Linked DNA regions of Homo sapiens: all the other regions are linked to region 2. Evidence: promoter capture Hi-C in 16 types of primary human blood cells and fetal thymus (Javierre and others, 2016). All regions are on one chromosome and are shown on one strand. The core of a region is centred on a gene start or on the middle of the fragment in contact, and the rest is flanking DNA. Distances in the headings are between cores, read along the strand shown. Region 1 holds the start of PSD4 (pleckstrin and Sec7 domain containing 4). Region 2 holds the start of CKAP2L (cytoskeleton associated protein 2 like). Region 3 has its middle 4.2 kb from the start of TTL.

What was found. Contacts are between HindIII fragments. The CHiCAGO score rates a contact against its expected background, and 5 or more counts as called.
Region 1: a contact is called between the fragment with the promoter of PSD4 here and the fragment with the promoter of CKAP2L in region 2, in 2 of 17 cell types (naive CD8 T cells and non-activated CD4 T cells). The highest score is 7.4, in naive CD8 T cells.
Region 3: a fragment that was not itself captured here is called in contact with the fragment with the promoter of CKAP2L in region 2 in 1 of 17 cell types (fetal thymus); the score reaches 6.9 in fetal thymus.

The regions. Positions count from the first base shown.
Region 1 is chr2:113,172,525-113,175,754 of GRCh38, reverse strand. PSD4 (pleckstrin and Sec7 domain containing 4) reads right to left here and starts at 1,784. Exons shown (of 17, transcript NM_012455.3): 1 at 1,701-1,784. It overlaps LOC124907872 (a long non-coding RNA gene), which reads left to right. Exons shown (of 2, transcript XR_007087197.1): 1 at 1-485. RefSeq lists enhancers at 1,212-1,301, 1,922-2,091, 2,142-2,211, 2,441-2,941, 2,942-3,230. The HindIII fragment of the contact is 16,060 bases long and covers 1-3,230 here.
Region 2 is chr2:112,763,109-112,766,398 of GRCh38, reverse strand. CKAP2L (cytoskeleton associated protein 2 like) reads left to right here and starts at 1,790. Exons shown (of 9, transcript NM_152515.5): 1 at 1,790-1,837. The coding sequence starts at 1,801. RefSeq lists a silencer at 1,411-1,570 and an enhancer at 2,021-2,160. The HindIII fragment of the contact is 4,243 bases long and covers 1-2,503 here.
Region 3 is chr2:112,476,280-112,479,571 of GRCh38, reverse strand. No RefSeq gene overlaps it. Among named protein-coding and RNA genes, the nearest start is that of TTL, 4.2 kb to the left of the region's middle. The HindIII fragment of the contact is 2,753 bases long and covers 584-3,292 here.

The DNA.
Region 1 (3,230 bases), core at 535-3,034, 410 kb before region 2:
AGCCTCCTCAAGGAGTCAGCCCTGAACCTTCATCCGGAGGGTGCCTGTCTCTGTTTCCCTTTTTGAGCTTCCAGACTCAGCAAGCAAACGCTCCCTCCTTTTACCCTGGAAATGTTTTCCCTCCTATGGAAAAGGTATGAAGGCTTCTGGCCGGTCCAAGGACTTAGGAGGTGACCTGTCCTGTCCCTCTGCAGCCCGAGAAGCTGCCGAATTACAGATGTTGCTGCAGGCAGGAACCATGAGTGGAACTCCCTGGCCTGGAGCTGCAGGACAGAGGCCTCTGTCTGAACCTGGGGTCTGAAGCACCGTGAGAGAAATGACTCGAGAAGGCCCCACATCCTGCCCACACAGAAAGAGCCATCATGCAAATTTGCACGCACACACACACACACAGAGAGAGAGAGAGAGAGAGAAGACAGTGCTACTGAAGGCCTGTGGTGAGGCCAGCAGAGGCTCAGGAAGGGAGCAGAGGATGGCGGTCTGAGGTAGGCAGAGAGTATCCAGGGGAGAGATCACGGGGGTAGGGACAGAATGACAAAGGGGACCCAGTACAGCTGCTGCCTGGGGAGGACAAAGACCCCTAGGGGGCTGGGGCCAGGCTGGGCCTCTCCTCCCTGGGTCCTCTCACCCCACATCCCTCACCCCTTCTGTGGGTCTCTCCCCCTTCCCCAACAAAGAGCTCAGCAGCCTGTGTTCTGATCCCCATGCTAGGCGGTTCCTTGTCTGTAGGAGGAGGGGGCCACGGGATGCTCTAGAGTCCTAGGCAGCTGGGAGACAGGCCTGCTTGGGGACCACTTTTTAAAGCTGGTCCAAGGTCCAATGAACGGAGGAGTATTTATCATCAGCTAATGACAGGCCACCCTTCCCTGCATTCTAGCAGAGGAGTGACTTCAACTGTGGAATTTTAGGCCCTGGAATAAGGGGGGAATGGCAGTGTCAGGGGACTTTCCCTCCATGCAGCTACCTTCACTATAACAATAATGACTACAGTGGGCCTTAGTTTCCTACACAGGCACACTTTGAGAGTTCAGTGGTTCCTGTTGCCCATCAGGACAACAGGCCTAAGCCAGAGCTAAACCAGTAAGGAGGGTCCCCTTACCTCTCCTCGAGCTTCTCCAGGATGGTCCTGGAAGGCAAGATGAAGCTGGGAGCCCCCTGATGGCCAAGTTGACTCTGAGCTCCTGCAGCAACCACACCCAGAGCCACCCCCACCCCAAACCCAGGCCTTCCAGACTCCCTCTCTCCAGAGTCTAGGGTCGAGAATCACTTGGGACCTTTGGCCACAAAAGCCCCCACTGGGTACTCAGCCAGAGCAGTCACTGGGGACGCAGTGACACTCACAAGAGGATTAGCAAGGAGCTTCCTTCACCCTTCACTATTGCAGACCTCCAGAGGCTCTGCGGGGAGCCAGGGAAGGGAAACAACAGAGGTCCGTGGGGCCAGGGCAGGGAATCAGAGAAGGGTCAGATGAGGAGGGGTAGGCTGAGGGAGGAGGGGGACGGGACACAGAGCAGGAAGGGGGAAGGAGGGGCCTAGCCTAGCCCAGGCTCATGGCAGGTGCACACGGCACTGCCAGAGCCCTCGCCTCTCCCCTGCCCACCTGCCCCAGCCCCTGCCACAAGGACCCACATGTGACTCTCCACATTCCCTGCTCCCACAGGTTCCACCAGCCCCAACCTAGGCAGACCCACTTAGCTCACCTCCAAAGGACCCAAGAATGGATGGCTTGGCCTGGGCTCCCCAAGAGCACTTCCTGGCTCACAGTCGGCTTGCCCAGTGAATGTGGCTGTGACGGCTGGAGCTTCCGACTTCCGCTCCTCCTCACCACAACACACACCCCTCCTGCTCCCCGCCGCCTCCCCAGGGTTCCCTAGCTGCTCAACACCTCACACTTCCTGCCCACAAGATAAGAGCCTCTCTTCCTAGGCCCAGCGCCTGCAGCCCCTTTCCCCATGCCCCTGCTCCTTGGAGGCCCCCACCCTGCACACCAGCCTAGAAAGAACCTGCCATGGTGGAACTGGCCTCTCCCTGCCATGCAGGGGCCTGGGATTGAAAGGGGAAGGGGCCGAGGCCTGGTTGGTAAGCAGGCCCCACCTCCTTCCTCCCTGCGCTTCTGCCCCAGGTTCTCAGTCTTGCTCTGGCTCTTGGTCCCCTGCAGGGCACCCAGTGAGAGACAGGAGGGCCCTAAGTTGGGCAATTTCTGGTTTTAAAACAAATGACATTTCAATTTTTGTGTGACTATGTCTCATGTCACTGGTAATAATGCAAATGATACAATTGCCTTTTAGTTACAAAGTTTCTCCCAATAGTACCTCAATCCCTCCTCACACCTACTTTATGAAGCATTAATAACCCCATCATACAGATCCGGATCTGGAGGCAAGCTCAGAGATGCTAAGCCACTGCCCAGGGTTGCACAGCTGGAAAATTACAAAGCTGGGGTTAGAATACAGAGCCTGTGACTATATGAACCAAGGGACCTCCATTCCCCGTGGCTGAATTCCCAACACACGTCCTCAGGACACCGGCCGCAGTGTCCACAAGTGTAAGTGAGGCTGGTGGGGAGCGCAAACACCATGCCATTCTCCTCCCTCCACACAATCTACTTCCTCAACATCAATGACCGTCAACTTCTCTGCTGAGGCTCCACCACTCCCACCCTCCCTGAACTCTCGTCTTCATGATTCCAGCTGACCCAGAGACTCCCTCACTTGCATGTCCACACAGCAGTGGGGACCAGCCACCCTGACCCAGAGTTGAGAGGGTCGGGCTCTAGCTCACCTACAGCCGCACCCCTCCCTGCAGGGTACAGAGTCCACAGGAACATACCAACATGGAGCCCGTGCACCCTGCTTCTCCACCACACTCTGCGTGCCCCAGATCCCGAGACTCTCCACTTCTGGGGCCCAAATGGCCTCCTCCCCATGTGGGCACACAGCACCGCTGCCCTATGCAGCCTGAGACTGGGTGAAGCGCTGGCAAGAGTCCTGATAGCAGAGACGGGAGCAGGTAGAGAGAGCTCAAACCTTTGGGCAGGTCACCCACCCACATGCACGTGTGATACAGAGCAGGGTGGGGAAGAGAAAGGGAGGTGGAGCTGTGGCGTGGGCCAAAGGCTGGGGTGGGCTGTGCTGTGGCAGCAACATTCAGAGGCGGCTAAGAATCCTCCTTCAAACCTGGAGCTCCAGGCCATGATGAAAGTGGGAGGTAGGAGAATTAGGAGAATAGAC
Region 2 (3,290 bases), core at 541-3,040:
CCAGCACTGCGTGGGATATCAGGCAAGGTGACTTCTACAACTGACATGCATTCAACCACCTAGATTCTACAAAGACCAAAACAAAACCGCCTTCACTTTTCTGAAACTGTTGGTGAAGGAGTCCCTTTCTCAGTCATTAACAAAAATAATGATCAGTTTTCCTATTTTAAACATTTAATACACTATTGAAAATATCAAAATGCATAAATCCAGAAACCCTGGCTCTCTTCCAAACTCCCTATTTACGGCTAAAGAGAAGGGCTGCTGCAGTGGCTTCATGCCCTGCTGAGTACCCAACTGGTAAGCTGAACCTGGCCAACAGGTGCCCAGATATGACTGCCCCTCCACACACGACTTCTCCAGCATCCATGGAAGAGGAACCTTCATACACAAGGAGCCAAAAGCATTTTCCAGACCTCTTTAAGAAACTGGAGAATAGATGAAACAGGACAAACTTCAAAAGAAAAAAAATTTAGGATTAAAACAAGGGGAATGAAGTGTGTCTAGGGATTCAGGACAACGAGGCCTGCGATCTCCTAGTAACTAGGAGAAACTAGGCCTGCGTTTCTCCGTTAGCCTTATGGCCTTATAGTCAGCTGATCAGGTGAAATCGAAAATATACCTTGAACAAGAGATCACCGTGAGAGGAGTAAGGCAGTTTCTCAAAAAATTAAAAATAGAATTGCCGTTTGATCCAACAATACCACTTCGTGGTATATACCCAAAAGAATGAAAAGGAGAGTCTCAAAGAGTTATTTGTGCATTCATGTTCATATTATTATTCACAATAGCCAAAAAGTGGAAGCAACTCAAGTGTCCGGAGAGGGATGGACCAAGAAGCAAAATGTGGCATCTCCACACAACGAAATGCTATTCCCCCTTAAAAGGAAAGGAAATTCTGACACATGCTACACATGGATGAACCTTGAATACTTTATGCTAAGTGAAACAAGCCAGTCACAGAACAAATACTGCATGATTCTACTTATATGGCACCTACAGTTGTCAAATCCATAGAGACAGAAACTAGAATGGTGATTGCCTGGGGCTGGGGGAGGGAGGAGTGCGGAGTTAGTGACGGGTACAGGGTTTCATTTGGGAAGATGAAAAAGTTCTGGAAAGGACAGTAGTGGTGGCTGTGCCACAATGTGAGGGTACTTAATACCACTAAACTGCACATTTTTGAAAAATTTAACACTTTAAAATGGTTAAAATGGTATATGTGATGTTATGCATATTTTACCACAATTAAACGAGCCACCCTGCAGTACTAAGAACTAGGAGCCTTTAGATGCATAAGACCCATATGTCCTCTTTATAATATTATTTTTTCACAGCTCCTGTGAGTCTGAGACTTTGAAAGGACAGAATCAGGTAGCGGCCCCAGCATCCTGGGAGGACCGCCCTGTCTCTCCGCCCAGGGACTCCCGGCGCGCCAACCCCAGCTGGATTCAGCGTAACCGCCCCCCAACCACCAGCCCGGCTGAGGCCCCCACGGAGGGTCCCACGCCCACTCGGAGGCGCACTCACAGGCGCACTCAGAGGCGGGCGGCGCCGCGCCCCGAGGAAGCCGCCCTCAATGCCGAGGTGCGCTGCACGTTCTTCCAATCAAAGGGCCCCAAGGTCGGGTTCTCAAGGCCAGAGCCAACCGCAAAGAGCCTATTGCCTGTTGTCCCGCCCTCCCGTGCTGACGACTAGCGAGTTTCAAACCCGCAGGAGCCAATGAGGACGCGTGGACGCGCGGCACGCCGGTCCTGGCTACAGGCGCGGCGTTTGAAGAAAAACTGTCACTGAAGAGTCATGGTGGGGCCCGGGCCTACCGCTGCTGCCGCTGTCGGTGAGTACGACCGCTGTTCCCGTTATTCTCAGGCGTTGGAACACGGCCGGGGAAGTAGGAGGCCACCGAGTGAGTTCGTCCCGCGGGAGGTGCCCGTCCGCTCGCCTGCCTAAGTTTCCCCTGGGCGTTTTCCATCCCGGGAGCGCAGACGGGACCCCCAGGTAGACGTCTGGGTCCTGGGCGGGGGAGGCTGTGCGCAGGCCCAGATACCTCACGGGCGTATTTCCAGAAAGCCCTGCAGCAGCCTTGCAAAGAGATGTCATTGTCACCACGTTCCGGATAAAGAAACTGAGGCCCCTTGCTCGGGTTTTCACCAGCAGTGGGAAGCTGCGCGCTGTTTTGATCCACATTTGGCTCCAGGCAGAGCCGGGCGTGGTCCTCTGTGCCAGGAGGCGGGGTCTGGCCGAAGCCCGGGTCTCCTGCCTCTGGCGGGGCTCTCACTCCACACCTCTCAGCCTGCGGTGGTTAGAAGTTGATTGGTTAAATCTGCACCCAGGGCTAAGGCTTCTGCGTTCCCTAATCTCTTAGATGTGCTTGGAGCCCTTTCCTACCTTTCAAAATACTCCTGCTCAGATGCCACTTTCTCCAAGATACGCACCGTTGTTTTGTTTCATCCATTATTCCTGTTGATGCCTACGAGGTCCTAGGCACTTTACATAACAAGCTTTAAAGATGGCATTTCTGTCCGCCTTATAGGCTTAGCAGCAGCAAAGTTTGCTAATTTGCTAGAAGTCACGGAGGTGGGACTCCAACCCCCTATGTCAGCCCCTACGCTCTACATTGCCCGCCAAGCTGTCTCTAAGGATAGATACATGAGCATCAGAGAGCAAAACAGGGCAACTCCGTTCAGATGAGGTTAAGAGTCGTTTGGCACCCCTGTCGTCTTTTTGTCTTCCTTCACATCATTATTTACTTTTAACCTTTTCTAGCCACCTACTCCCCTCATTTATGCCCTACCTCTGAACTCCCATACTTCTTTTCGTCTCTTATGGCCCTTAGATTTTACCTTATACTGTAATTGTTGCTGTGTTGATTTTATCTCCACTACTAGTTTGAAAGTTCTTGAAGGCAGAAATTATTGACTTGTCATCCCCTCACAAATGGCTTGCGTAGAAAGTCACCATAGTATAGGTGTCTGCCGTGAGCAGACCGGGCGTATTTTATCCTTAGTACCAACAAAGGAAGCCATATAAGGGTTTGTGGGTAAAAATCATCATCCCTGTAAAAAAACAAAAGACGTAAGACCAGGCCTGGCTCACCAGCTCAGGTGGGCCAGTAACAGAAATTCTTCAAAACAGACTGTTGTAGCTGAGAACAGTGGCTGTGAGCTCCAGGGTTAGAAAAGCCTGTTTTCAAGTCCTGGAATTGCCACATATTAGCTGGGTAACTTTGGGCATGACATTTACTCTCTCTGAATTTCAGATTGCAAAAACTCATTGGATTGTTTTGTGGA
Region 3 (3,292 bases), core at 711-3,210, 290 kb after region 2:
TCAAAAGATTGAAATAATTCTGAACACTTTTCTGACAATAGTGGAATTAAGTTGCATGGAGATTAAGTGATATTGTACACTGCTAAATAACCCATGAATCCGTGAAGAAATCACAATATGAGAAAGTATTTTCTAACTGAATGAGAATAAAGATATGGCATAGCAAAACTGGTAGGATACAGCTAAAGCTGTTTTTAATAAAAAAATTACAGTCTAAAGTACATATGTGTTTTTTTTTGTTTTGTTTTGTTTTTGAGACGGAGTCTGGCTCTGTGGCCCAGGCTGGAGTGCAGTGGTGTGATCTCGGCTCACTGCAAGCTCTGCCTCCCGGGTTCACGCCATTCTCCTGCCTCAGCCTCCCGAGTAGCTGGGACTACAGGCGCCCGCCACTACGCCCGACTAATTTTTTGTATTCTTTTTTTTTTTTTTTTTTTTAGTAGAGACGGGGTTTCACCGTGTTAGCCACGATGGTCTCGATCTCCTGACCTCGTGATCCGCCCGCCTCGGCCTCCCAAAGTGCTGGGATTACAGGCGTGGGCCAAGTACGTATGTTTTTAAAAGAAGACTGAAAATCAATTAAGCTTCCATCTCATGAAACTAGAAAAAGAATAATAAGCAAAACCCAAAGTAAGTAAAAGGAAATAAATCCTAAGGGAAGAAATCAAGGAAGTAGAAAATAAATGTACAATAAAGAAATCAAAGGCAAAGGGGATATATTTTAAAAAATTTAAAATTGTTAAGCATTCAAGACCAACAAATGAAAGGAAGAACAATCAAAGTTAAAATGAAAAAGGTCAGATGCAAGAAGATTTAAAAATATTTTTAAACAAATTTTTTAATGAAAAAAGAAACATCACTAGAGATCCTGAAGGTATTAAAAACAATAAGATCCGGCCAGGCGCGGTGGCTCACGCCTGTCATCCCAGCACTTTGGGAGGCCGAGGCGGGTGGATCACCAGAGGTCGGGAGTTTGAGATCGGCTTGACCAACATGGAGAAACCCTGCCTCTACTAAAAATACAAAAAATCAGCTGGGCGTGGTGGCGCACGCCTGTAATCCCAGCTACTCGGGAGGCTGAGGCAGGAGACGGTCTTGAACCCGGGAGGCGGAGGTTGCCGTGAGCCAAGATCGCGCCACTGCACTCCAGCCTGAGCAACAAGAGCGAAACTCCGTCTCAAAAAAAGAAAGAAAGAAAGAAGATCCTATGATCAATTTTTGCAAATGAATTTGACGTGTGGACAAAATAGACTACTTCCTTGAAAAATCCAGTTTACCAAAAATGACACAGAAATACAAAATCTGAATAATTTCACACCTATTAAAGAGATTGATTCTATTCGCAGATAACATATATGTAGAAAATTCTACCAAAAAAACCCTTAAGGACTACCCACACATACATACCCACGAAATGTTAGAATTAATAAACAAATTAGAATTAATAGAATTAATAAACAAATTCAGCAAACTTTTGGAACAGCCCAAAATAATCCAAGAAAAAATTAAGAAAACAATTTCATTTATAGTACCATCAAATAACCCGTTTATTAAGGGAAAATTTGAAAAAAATAAAACTGTCACTTTTCCCATATGATATGGTTCTATACATAGTGGATCCTGAAGAACCTATACTAATTGAATGAATAACTGAACATTGTAAAGTCACTAGATACAAGGTATATATACAGATATAAATTGTATTTCTGTATGTCAACAACAAAGAAATAGAAAAAAAATTTTTAAAAGATACGATTTACAGTAGCATCAATATAAATGTGAAATAATTAGGAGTATCTAATGAAAGCTGTGCATTGCCTCTACACTGAAAATTACAAAGCATAATCGAGAGAAAATTTAAAAGCATAAAATAAATGAAAGGATGTACCATGTTCATGACTGAAAGACTCAAAATTGTTAAGGTGTCAAATTGATCTATAGATTCAATACAATCCCAAACAAAATCTCTGCAGAGCCATTCATGGAAATTGACAAGGTAATTCAAAAATTTATATAGAAATGCAAGGGACTGGCTGGGCGCGGTGGCTCATGCCTGTAATCCCAGCACTTTGAGAGGCCGAGGCGGGCAAATTGCCCGAGGTTAGGAGTTCGAGACCAGTCTAGGCAACATGGTGAAACCCCAGTTCTACTAAAAGTACAAAAAAATTAGCCGGCCATATGTTTTTTAAAAAAGACTGAAAATCTTTTTAAAGATTTTCATGGTGGCATGATTTTTAAGATTTTTAAGATTTTAAGATTCCATGGTGGCATGCACCTGTAATCCCAGCTACTCGGGAGGCTGAGGCAGGAGAATTACTTGAACTGGGGAGGTAGAGGTTGCAATGAGCTGAAGATTGCGCCATTGCACTCCAGCCTGGGCGACAGAGTGAGACTCCAACTCAAAAAGAAAAAAAAGAAAAAAGAAAAAGAAACTCTGACTCAAAAAGAAAAAAAAAAAAGAATAGCAAAGGTAATCTTTAAGAAAGTTGGAGGATTTACACTACCAGGTATCAAGACCTGACTATCAAAGTTATAGTATGTAAGTACAAAGCTGTAGCAATTAAGGAAGCATGGTTTTAGCATAAGAAGGGAAAAATTAACCAATGTAATAAACAGACCAATGTAACCCATGTAGGGAAAACCCATTTTAAGTTGTTTGGGGGTCTAAGTATAGGACACAAAGAAAAGACATGAAGGGAGGAGTAGTTCAGGATTTTGAGGCTTGCTTTTTAGGAGCACCACTCTTAAGCCCACGTAAGAAAACTTTAGAGGCTCTCACTCCGGCCCTGCTCTAGCCACATTCTTCCCTACAGATGAGACGTTTGTGAGGTCAAGGAGTTAATGGCCACCAGGAGACTGTCACCCTCCCAGTTTCTAGGATGTGCCAGATATCCGGGAACCAGAATTCACTGTCCAGAGATCAAAGCCTATTTCCTGGCCCTGCTCAGGCTTCCTCCCCGGGCCCATGTCCCAAGGGTCAGTGGCACTGCTGGTGTAGGCACCCATAGGCCTGGGCAGTGGCCAAGGGGCGGCTGTTTGTGGGTGAGGAGGAATGGATGCTCAGCTGTGAAGAGCAGTGTCCTCGCTTGAGTTCCTCAAAAAGGTGGCCCTGGAACTCACAATTGCATTGTATGTATGTTATAAACAACCTGATTTATATCAAAGGTGACATTGCAGATGAGTAGGGGCAGAGATGGGCTTACAGATGGAGCTGGGTCAAGGATATCCATATGGAAAACTAAATAAACCTTGACTCCTATCACATGCTATACTCAAAAATCAATTGCAAATGCGT